2 separate regions of the Homo sapiens genome follow, and region 1 is linked to region 2. The links are contacts of gene promoters, found by promoter capture Hi-C in blood cells and fetal thymus (Javierre and others, 2016). All regions are on one chromosome and are shown on one strand. Each heading gives the region's core, a stretch centred on a gene start or on the middle of the fragment in contact. The rest is flanking DNA. Distances are from core to core; before and after follow the strand shown. Region 1 has its middle 28 kb from the start of GABRA5. Region 2 holds the start of MAGEL2 (MAGE family member L2).

What was found. Contacts are between HindIII fragments. The CHiCAGO score rates a contact against its expected background, and 5 or more counts as called.
Region 1: a fragment that was not itself captured here is called in contact with the fragment with the promoter of MAGEL2 in region 2 in 2 of 17 cell types (M0 macrophages and endothelial precursors); the score reaches 7.9 in M0 macrophages.

What each region holds. Positions count from the first base shown.
Region 1 is chr15:26,836,414-26,842,067 of GRCh38, forward strand. No RefSeq gene overlaps it. Among named protein-coding and RNA genes, the nearest start is that of GABRA5, 28 kb to the right of the region's middle. The HindIII fragment of the contact is 5,046 bases long and covers 723-5,654 here.
Region 2 is chr15:23,645,404-23,651,377 of GRCh38, forward strand. It overlaps MAGEL2 (MAGE family member L2), which reads right to left and starts at 2,464. Exons shown (of 1, transcript NM_019066.5): 1 at 1-2,464. The coding sequence starts at 2,339. RefSeq lists an enhancer at 907-1,751. The HindIII fragment of the contact is 5,160 bases long and covers 1-3,604 here.

The DNA of each region.
Region 1 (5,654 bases), core at 1,996-4,495, 3.2 Mb after region 2:
TTGAAGGTTTTGAGCTATCAATTCAACTTATCTAATTGACATAGAACTATTCATTTACATACTTCCCTTTGAGCAAGTTTTGATAGCCTGTATCATTCAAATCATTTTTAGGTTTCATCTAATTTTGTGAATTGATGGGCATAGAGTTGTTGCTATCATTTCTTTGTTATCTTTTTAATGTCTGCAGAGAAGTTGTAATATCCACATGCTTGCTATTGTTGACTATAGTGTTCTATATACACTGATTCAGTCAAGTTGTTGGATAGTATTGTTGAGGTTAGCTAGATCCTTACCAGTTTTCAGCCTACTGTTCTATTATTTCTGAAACACCAGAGGTTCCATCTAGGTCCTGCTGCCCACCGCACAGAAAGCCAATCACTGAGACAACAAGGATTGCCAAGGAAGAAGGCTTTAATTGGGTGCTGCAGCCGAGGAGATGTAAGCTCAGTCTCAAATCCATCTCCCTGACCAAATAAAACTAGGGGTTTGTATAGCAGTGAAGAAATGTAACCATGTGTAAGAAAAAACCTAGGGAGTGGCAAAGACGCAATCATGGTAAATGAGGGTCCTGGCATCTGATGTGGTGATCTGGTGTGTTTCTGTTCTTTTATACTTTTTTGAGAAGACTGATATGGTGAGTTTCAGTTCTTTGATACTTTTTTTAAGAGGCCAGAAGGTCCTTTCCTGGGGAAGGAACGCAGATAAAGCAAATATAACTTTCAAGCTTTAAGACCAAAAGGATACATTTCTATGTGTATTCAAAATGGACAGTCTGTGGGACTATTGGGTTGGTTTCACTGTCAGTTACTGAAAGAGGAATGTTGAAGTCTCAAGTATAATTATGTATGTGTACATTTCCTCTTTAATCCCATCAGTTTTTGCTCCATGTATTTTGTAGCTCTACTGCTAGGTACATAAACATTTTGGATTGTGTGTCTTCCTGGAGACATATTCCCCCTTTATGTATGTCCCTCTTACTAGTATTTTTTTCTATCTCTTCCAACTCATTTTTGTTTTTCCCTCTTGTTTTACCTTTTCTTGGGTTACTTGAGCATTTTGTTACTCATTTAATCTTCTCTATTGACTTTTTTATCTTTTCCATTTTTATAGCTTACCACAGAGTTTTCCATATACATTTTAATTATTCATATGTTCTCTTCATATATCATACCACTTTATAAACAGTGAAAAAATGTACAGTATTTTCCCAATTTATTTCTCATATCCTTTGTGTTATTGTAAATTTTACTTTTTCATAGGCTATAATCATACAATATGCATTTTTCCTTCTTTTGATTTAGGCAGTCAGTAATCTTTTAGAACAATTTGAATAGGAAAAGAATGTAATAAATAATTTTATTTTTACCTTCACTGATTACATTTTAGTGTTCTTTATTCCTTTGTGTATATTAACTTCTATCTGGTATCATCTTTCTCTTCCTGAAGACCTTCCTTAAATTTTCTTCAGGAGAACTGCTGGTAATAAATTCTTACAATTTTTTTTGTCCAACAAAGTCTTTATACCCACTTCATTTTTAATGATACTTTCACTGAATCACAATAGGGGGTTTTGCTTCCTTTCCTTCTTCTAGCACTTTAACAGTGTCACTCTGTTGTCTCTTAGCTGCATGGATTCTGAAGTCAGCCGTAATGCTTATCTTTGTTCCTTTGAATATATCATATTATACTAGTATAAAAGTCATTGCGGTTTTTGCCATTTGAAAATAATGCAAAAACTGCAATGACTTTTGCACCAACCTAATAGTGTATATTTTTTTCCTCCAGCTGCCTTGAAGATTTTCTCTTAGTCTTACACATGTATCACTTTGGCTCTAATATGCCTAGTTGTTTGTTTGTTTCTGTTTTTTCTTGCTTGATGTTCTCTGAACTTAGATCTGTACTTTGGTGTCTTTCATTTATTTTGTAAATAACTTGTCCATTATTTCCTTTGTTCCATTCTTTCCACTTCTCCTTCTGATATTCCAGTTATGACCATGTTCATTTGTCCATTTTCCTGAGAATGGTCCTGCCAAGTTTTGCCACTGTGCACAGGTCTGGTTGTGGGTTATACACATTACCTCTATGCGCAAGTCTGGCTATGGAGTCTCTTGCGTGGCTTCCTCATAGACATAACTAACCTCCTGGTTTCTGTCCCGGTTAGCAATCTTGCCTGGTGTTTCTCCCGCTCTGGGATGCACCTGGCAGTCCCCCTCTGGGATGCACCCGGCAGTCAGCTTCTCCAAGGTTTCCCTCTCTAGGCAGCCAGGTGTTTGCTGCTTCTACTGTTTCATCACTCAAACGTCTTCATCTATTTTGCATTATCTAGATTTTTAAATGTGTGATATATGTTCTCTGATGCCCACGTCTCGTCGTTCAGCTCTTTTGCTGGTACTTAAGGAGTTCTTGGGTCACTCTGCAGGAACACTGGAGCCCGGCGGCCCCACTCTCTTTATTGGCAGCTCTGGCGTCCTTCCATCACCCACTGCGGCGTCTTGGCCACGATCGGACAGTTCTCCTCATGGCCACAAGAGGGCGAAGAGGAGCTCGCCCTGCCCTTCCGAGGAGGCCAGGTCACCCCTCCAGCCTCCTTCAGAAAACTGCGACTCTACCTTCGTGGAAACGGCGCAGAGGGGTGAGATGGAGCGGGAGAGCACGGAGGACGGAGTGGAGACAGGGGCTAGATTATGTAGGGCCTGTGGGGCTCTCAGGTGTCACTGTCATTTTATTCTAAGTGTGAGGAGGACCCATTGAGCTGGGGCTGATGGGATTTCTTTTGTTTGTTTTGTTTTTGTAAAGATCACGCTTGGATTCTCCAAGGAAGAGAGATGGGGCTTGGAGAGGTGTAGGAGGCTGTAGAAGGGCGAGTTAGGGCTCAGCGGAACCCAGCGGGCGGAGACTAGGACTGAGCCCTAGCTCAGACCCTTTGAATGTCAGTTAATTACAATCAAAAGAAGGTGAAAATTTGCAACTTTCATTCATTCTCCAAAAGGACAGTTTTTCCGTATGTGTTCATTTCTCCTTCACCTTCCTTTTTATTTTTTATGTTTTGTTATAATAAATGTCGAATATCAAAGCAATGTATAAAAACAGACACATATGTGAAAGCTCCAATGTTAATGCTTCAAAGTAAGCCTGTGCAATGCACAAAAAATTAAAAGCAGGTCTTTCCCCCTGTTAAGTAACGTGCTGTTTGATATATGCTATCCTTCATTGCAGTGTGCATACATTAGAGATGAAAGCAGACCGAGCTATAACGGTACTAATAATTCTATAATTTAGTGCTTGCTCCCACATTTGGACACGGTAACGTAAAACCTATGGAAACTGACGTATGTTCAATGGGTTTCTCCAGCCAGATATTTTCACTCTTAACCTTTTATTCAACTCTTTTTTACATCTTTCAATGACTTTTTGTGATTCTATTCATTAAAACCTTAGTGTACTTACATTTACTCTAAGGTGTTTTGTCAACTGTGTTTAATGTGAAAGAGATTATCTTTGTATTTTTACATGCTTCTTGATGATTTGTAAGGCTTCACTTAGAACACATGTGGATTAAGTAGCCAGCCACCTTTGTAAACTGTTAAAAACAATTTCTAGTATTTATTGCAGTGTTTGGGCTTTCTCTGTATATAATGACAGCACTTGAAGATGAAAACACACATGCCCTTTCTTTCCTTTCTTGCCCTTTTGCTTTGGAGACAGCATTCTAAATAGTACTAAAAGACAAGGAGGGTAACTTCAACAGAAATACATAAAAATGGTGATTTCATATATGGTTCAAAATTAAATTGAAAAATTGTCAATAAATATGAATAAAATATATAATCCATTTAAAACAATTCTCAGATTGGCTGGATATTTTTCAAACAGCAAAATCCAGCCACATGGTTTACAAGAGACACATCTACCACAGGATACATTGCTTGTGACTCATGTTTACTTACAAAAATGTCTATTTCAACTATGATCCGACTCAATAGAAAGATTAAAAATAGAGAATGCAGAGATATATACTAGAAATAATTACCCTAAAGGAAACTGATGTGGCTGCAGACTTTAAGGCAATCAAAGTAGACTTCTACTTTAAGTAGACTTTAAGGCAAAATAATTACTGGAAATCAAATGGATATTTTAGAATAAAAAAATTATCCAATTTACTGAAAAGATAAACTGTTTGAAATTTGTTTTCATATACCAATGTATTCTTTTAAACTTTTAAAGAAAACATTTATGGAATATGAGGGAAAGCAGATTAATCTACAATAACAATGTAAGAATTTCAGTACACATATCTATTAATAATAGACAAAATATTCGTGAAGCTATAGAAAACTTGAGCGCTATGATTCACAAAATTGACCTTATGAACACATATTGAACACTCTATCCAATAAATGTGAAATACATGCTCTCTGCAAGGTCGGGTGGAATATTTACAAATGTTATTCCATTGTACAGCCTGTCTCAATAAATTTCAAAAGGAGAAAGTAGTGTACTACTTTCCTTAAACATAATGCAATTAATTTCAAAACCAATGGAAAAAGATAAACACAAAATTGCCATTTGCTAGGTAATCAACCCATAGATCAAAGAAGAAATAAGGATTTTTAAAAATCCAAAATGAACTATATTTTTAAAACTACTTTGAACTTGTGGAATACAACTAAAAATTATTTGGAAAAAGTTTATAGCCATAGATGCTTATTTTGGAAGAGAAAAGATGTCCAAAGACTCCTGGAAGGCAGGCAAAGAAAACCAAATTCTCAAAAAATAGAAGACAAGAATAATGAATAAATAAAACAGCAGAGATTAAAGAAAAAGAAAACACACCTATAACAAAGATAATAGAGCCAAAATTCAGTTCTTTGAAAAGACAAAAAATAATGACATCCCTGGTGAAATTCCAACAAGAATGAAAAAAAAAAAACACACTTAATCAATATTAGGAATAAAACATGAGCACCACTACACAAATCACAAAAATAATAAGAGGATATTGTGAAAATCTTTGTTCTAATATTCTTTGACAATGTAGATAAAATGATCACTTTCGGACAAAAATAAATCTTACCAAGACAGACCCAAAAAAGAACAGAGAAAGTCTAGCAGCAAAAATATGGTTGCAACATAGGTTTATTGATTATTGTTTGTTTGTTCCTTTTATGTCTGAGGGTACAGTGGTGAAAGCAAAGCAAGCAAGTAGGGTAGCCGAGGTGACCGTTGGGGCTGACAGCATCTTCAGCAGAACCAGGTGAGAAAGAGTCCCCGTGAGGCCCATGGTAGAGGAAGGCACAGGCAAGCACTGGAGAGCTGCGAGTCTCCGTGGGACCAGCAGCTACTCTGCAGTGGCAGGGAAGATGGAAGCATCGCCTGGCCCTAGGAGTCCTGGAAGGAAAACGAAATACTCACTCGCCCACCACCGCCTCAATAAGAAAACTGTAGGCTGCGCAAAAATCTAAAGGAATGAATCCTAGAAAAACCAGAACAGCCCCAAAGGCTTCCCTCAGTTAGAAGTAAGTTTAACGGATAGGTGAACATTAAACGGGAAACCCACATCACTTGGCATGCCAGGAAGAGCAAACAAACACTTTCTCTCCAAAGGACAAGGATCCACCTGAAAGAAAAACGAATGGCAACAAAACCTAAAGTGG
Region 2 (5,974 bases), core at 1,214-3,713:
GGTGTGGCAGGCAGGTTTTTCCAGGCAGCTGGCAGGTGTGCTCGCGCAGCTGACACTGCCTTGGGAGCACAGAAGGTGGCAGCAAAGATCATGCGGTCTTTTGAAGGGGCCCTGCGCTCCTTCGAGGAGGTCCTGCGCTCTTTAGAGGAGCCCCTGCGGTCTATAGAAGAGGCCCTGCATTCTCCTGATGGAGTCATCAATGATTTAGCGGAGCCCAGGGGAAAATTTGCCGCTGCTACCGGGGGTCCGGGCTGGGCCTGCAAGACTGCAGGCGGTGCCTGCCAGGAAGGCTGGAGCGGCAGTGTGGGCACCTCCGCTTGCGGACCCGATGCCTGGGCCTGCTGGGGGGGTAGCTGGATTTGCACGGCTTTTTGGGAGGGCGGGGCTCCCTGAAAGGGCTGCTCCAGCTGGACCAAGGGGGGAGCCTGCCTCTGGGCCTCCTGGGCAGGCAGGGGCTGCCAGATGTGAGTGGGGGCCTTCTGGGCCTGCCAGGCCAGCGCCTGTGTCTGCTGCACCTCCTGGAATTCCATTGACGTTGGAATCTCGTGTGGCACCGGGGGCTGACCTTTGGGGGCCTGCCAGATGATGGAAGGGCAGTGCACAGCCTGCGGGGCAGACAGTGGGGCAGACAGCGGGGCCGGCAGCACAGGCTGGGGCACCTGCGGGCCAGCGGGCGGCGCCGCGGGTACCTGCGTAGCAGGTGGGGCCGTAGGCACCTGCGGCGCCGCCTGCACCTGCGGGGCCGGCAGCCTAGCCTGCGGGGCCTGCCGCAGTGGAGGTGGGGGTGGCAGGGCCTGCCAGAGCGGTGGCTGGGTGGCCAGGACCTGTGGGGCAGGTCGGATGGGCGGCGGCGCCTGGCGGATCAGCGGCGGGGCCTGGCGGATCACAGGTGGAGCCTGGCGGATCACAGGTGGGGCCTGGCGGATCACAGGTGGGGCCTGGCGGATCACAGCGGGGGCCTGGCGGATCACGGGTGGGGCCTGGCGGATCACGGGTGGGGCCTGGCGGATCACCGGTGGGGCCTGGCGGATCAGCGGTGGGGCCTGTCGCACCGGTGGTGGGCCAGGGCGGATGGGTGGTGGGCCAGGGCGGATGGGCGGGGGCCCCTGGCGCATGGGCGGCGGCACCTGCCAGGTAACGGCTGGTGCCTGCCAGGTGACCTGCGTGGTCTGCCAAGTCAGGGGAGTGGCCTGCCAGCCTTGCTGCGTGGCCTGCCATCCTGGCGAGGTCGCCTGCCAGCCCGGGGGTGTGGCTAGCTGCGCTGGGGGTGCCTGCGGGCCCTGGGGAACCTGCGGAGGAGCCCTTATAACTTGAGACTGGATTTGCAGGATCAGAGGCTGAGCCTGCGGGGCCCAAGAAGCCATCGGCTGTGCAGGTGGGGCCATCGGCTGTGCAGGTGGGGCCGCCGGCTGTGCCATCGGTGCTCCTGAAGCTGGAGGCTGGGTCATCGGAGCTCTCGCACCTGGAGGATGAATCATCAGGACTCCTGGACCTGGAGGCTTGGCCATCGGTGCTCCTGAAGGCTGAGGCTGGGTCATCATGGCTGCTGGAGGCGGCTGGACCATCGGTGCTCCCGGAGCAGCAGGCTGGACCATCAGGACTCCCGGAGTCAGAGGCTGGGCCATCAGGACTCCCGGAGCTGGAGGCTGGGCCATCGGTGTACCCGGAGGGGGAGGATGAGCCATCGGTGTCCCCGGAGGTGGAGGATGAGCCATCGGTGTCCCCGGAGGGGGAGGATGAGCCATCGGTGTCCCCGGAGGGGGAGGATGAGCCATCGGGGTCCCCGGAGGAGGAGGATGCACCATCGGGGTCCCCGGAGGAGGAGGATGGGCCATCGGGGTCCCCGGAGGAGGAGGATGGGCCATTGGGGTCCCCGGAGGGGGAGGGTGGGACATTGGGGTCCCCGGAGGAGGAGGATGGGCCATGGGAGCTCCGGGAGCTGAAGGATGCACCATCAGGACTCCCGGGGTCGGAGGCTGGGCCATCGGGGCTCCCGGAGGTGGAGGATGCACCATCAGGACCCCGGGAGTCGGAGGCTTACCCATCGGGCCCCCCAGCGGGGGAGCCGGGACTATCGGGCCCCCTAGGGCAGGAGGCTGGGTCATCGGAACCACCGGGGCGGGCAGCTGGCCCTGTGGGGCCTCCCAGGCAGGCTGAGGTGCCTGCCAAGCGGCCAATGAAGCCTGCAAGTCAATTGGAGGTGGATCCCAAGGGACTGGCGGAGCCCGGGAGGAAGCGGGCGGGGCCCGCATCAGAACCGTAGGGCGGCTATAGACAGGCGGCTTCGGGGCCTCCGCCGGAGGACTCGAGTCACCCAGATTCTTACTTAGCTGCGACATGTCCCTTTGCTGACAGCTGGTGGGTCTTTTCCTCGGACAGCTGCTGGGCCTTTTCCTCCAGAGAGAAGAGAATGCCTACGTGGCTGTTCAGAGGCTCCCTCCCTGCTGAATGCTGAATAGGAAGTGAGTGCTGCTCGCTCCGCAGCTTTCCGCAGTAAGGAGGAGGGGGGAAGGGGGCTCAATCCCGCCCCTTCCCCGCCCCCGACCACCACAAGTGGATATTGCATAGGGGCGTCTACCGGAGTCCTGGCTGACACAGGATCCCTTCTCACTCTGTCCAGTCCCCAAATGCAGACCAGTCAGACTCCACATGGATGACTTTTCACAGGGGAGTGACAGGAACCCATCCATGTTTTAGAAAAATCACTGTACTGCAGTGTGGAGTGGGAGCAGACCACTGGAAACATGGAAGGTATCCAAGACGGCGGGGGGAGATGGTGTGGTCTGGGCTAAGATGTGAGGCGGAGAATGAAAAAAGCGCATTTACATAAGAGAGTTCCAGGAGTTATAGCAGACAGATACCTGTATTATAATTGAATAAAGGAGTCAAAGACATGGAAAAGGCACACAAGTCCCTGCCTGGAGAAAGTGGGAAGTTGCAGGGACTGTTACTCTCTTAGGGTCCCAGGAGAGGCACACGGGAAGAGAGGCTGATGAGTATTGGCAGACACAGGGCATTTGCGGTGCTGTGGGACTGCCAAGGAGAGATACCCTGTAGGCACTCCTGTATGATGTCTTGGGAGTCCTGCTTGGCTATTCCTCATGAAAATAGAGTTGTGGGAGGGAATGTGGTTGCACTGGGTCTTGAAGAACACAGGCATGTTAGAGACACATGGAGAAAAGGGACAGCAGCGAGTAGAGAGAGAGGAAAAGAAGTCACGGAACTGAGACATGCCACACATCAGTGGAAGACAGCATTTTTAGTATGGGAAAACTGCCTGTGGAATGGCTCGGATGCAGGAACAGAGTAGGTTTCTCAGTATTTTTCATCTGCAGAATGGGAAAGAAATTTAAAAAATGAAAACCAAATAACGCACCTGAAGATAACAAAATGGGTATATAAATAGATCAAAAATTGATATATTTGGATATATAGGAAAAACAGGCAAAGAATAAAAAAATTTCTGGGGAAACTTCTCGTGACAAAAATCAGTTTAAATATGAGACAAATCAAGTATTAACAGATAAAGCAGATGACAATAGTATTATTGGGCAATGCTATACAACTTTATGGTGAGAGGAAGTGATAATCTCAGTAATTGAAAAGCTTTCTGGAAATATACAAAGCACTAAATATCAAGGATGTTTCGTTTAAATAGGCTGTTGGCAGCCTACGGCAGGAGTCCAGAGTGACAAAACGTGCCACCAGGGGGCAGATGAGGACGATGAAGGGTACACCCCACTCCTTCCCAGGTACCCTTAGCCAGGGGTCCTCAAATTTGGTAATTTATGGACCCAAGAGAAGGTATGTACACACTCCCAATGTTATTATTGCCTTAAACAATAATAGAAGAATTTGGGGGTAAAGTTTCAGTGATTTTCTGGACACTTAAGGGATGTTGTTATTCCCAGGAAACTCTTTTCAAAACAGTCAGATTTTTAAGGGTGCTTGATGATACAGTAGCCCCCCCCACCTTACCTGCAGGGGATACATTCCAAAACTCTCGATGCCCGAACCTGGAGACAGCACCAAACCTTATATATACCATGTATCCCTTTCATTCTCCTTCTTCACAATTTCACAGATAGTTTTGTTTTTGCCATATATCTTAGCAATCTCAGCATGCGATTTTTTCTTTCCTTATTAAGTCAAGAACTTTCACCTTTTTCCTTCAAGGAAGCACTTCATAGCTTCCGTTTGGCATACCTAAATTGCCAGGATCACTATTCTTACATTTTGGGGCTATTACTAAGTAAAACAAGGGTTCCTTGAACACAAACACTGGGAAACCGATGGTAGATCTGATATCTGAAGCAGCTACTAAGTGGTTAATGAGCAGGTAGCGAATACAGTAGCACTCCTGTGCCTGCAGTTTCACATTGTGTGGTTTCAGTTACCTGCAATCAAATGCAGTCCAAAAAATTAAATGGAAATTTCCAGAAATAATTTATAAGCTTTAGATTGCATGCCATTCTGAGTAGTATTATGAAATTGTTCTGTTTCGTCCTGCCTGGGGCATGAATTATCCCTTTGTCTAGTGTATCCATGCTGTATATGCTACCCGCCTGTTATTCACTTAGTAGCTGTCTCGGCTATCAGTTGAAAACATCGTAGTACATATAGGATTCAGTACTATTTCCAGTTTCAGGCCTCCACAGGGGGGTCTCAGAATATATCCCCCAAGGATAAGGGTGGACTACTGGACATCACTCCTGTGTATCCCCAGAGAAGGCCATCTACCACAGCACACAAAAAGCTTCTGCAGAATGGATACTACCGTGTTTCATGGTTTTCGTTTCTCCCTTGGGTTAATGGCCCAGATCCACACAGGATTTCTCAGTTTCATGGGGGTTTGGAAACACTGTAGAAGGACAAACTCTAAATGCCTAACCCTCAGGACCTGCTATTATCAACTCTGCTACATGGCTGTTACTGGCTATGGATGGCTTTGGAAAAATCAGTTTATTTTTTAGCCTAGGGCATTTCTAAAGCATACTTTTTTTCCACTCTAATGCAAATGTATAAACTACACAGAGATTAAGTTCTCCCACTAACCGTTTATTTTCGGGAATTATGACAGGTTTGTCCTGCCGTCCACCATGCTGTTGGTCATCCCACACAATGAATGGCTCCCACTAGGGTCTGGCTATTCTCACTGATGTTGGAGGTCAGTGAATAGCACTGACATACAGTGTCAACTCCCACCGAATCTGTTCTATGAAAAGAGGTCCGGTTTATGTTAAGAGGCAACACCAAAGCCAGAAAGAAAAGATTAGGCATTATACAAAGGAAAAAACAGGTGCGTAGGAGTAGTTAGAAATGGAAGATGAATAACTTCTACACCAGCACTATTGCCACTGCTTGGAAACATTCTTTAACCGGCAGGGAAAAATCAGAGATTATGTATCCATTGATTCTATAGGAACAAGTAAAGAGGGTAAACCCAGTTTATTCTCCCTGGAAGAAACATCTGCTTATTTCAGATAGTCAGTGCTCTCAGACCCAGGCTGTTCCTGGGGCTCTCCCTAGCTATTTACAAATTACTTGTGAGCAAAATTCACCTGAGGAAACAGGGACATACGGGTCGTTTTTGAAAACTGACTGCCTTAATCACAGCAAAACATAATATTGCCCTGAGTCTAGTGAGGCATTAGACCACAAGTGTTGGGTCTTCCCAAATCACTCCTGTGAAACCTTCCTGCTTCCTGAAGCCCTCTTTCCCTTTCTGTGCATATGTTCTTCCTCCTCAACACCTTTGAACCAAGTGTTGTCAAAATTCCCTTTCCTCACTTTTATATGAAACAGCTTGAAAATTCAAGGTGAGTAGAAAACAAAAGGGAAAAACATACAAAACATCCATGAAATGTTGGCCTCTGTTCCCTAATTAGAAAGGACTTTTAATGGCTTACGTCAGTATATAACAGCAGTATACAAAATGATTTTTAAAAACAGGGAAGGGAGAACTGAAGTATTG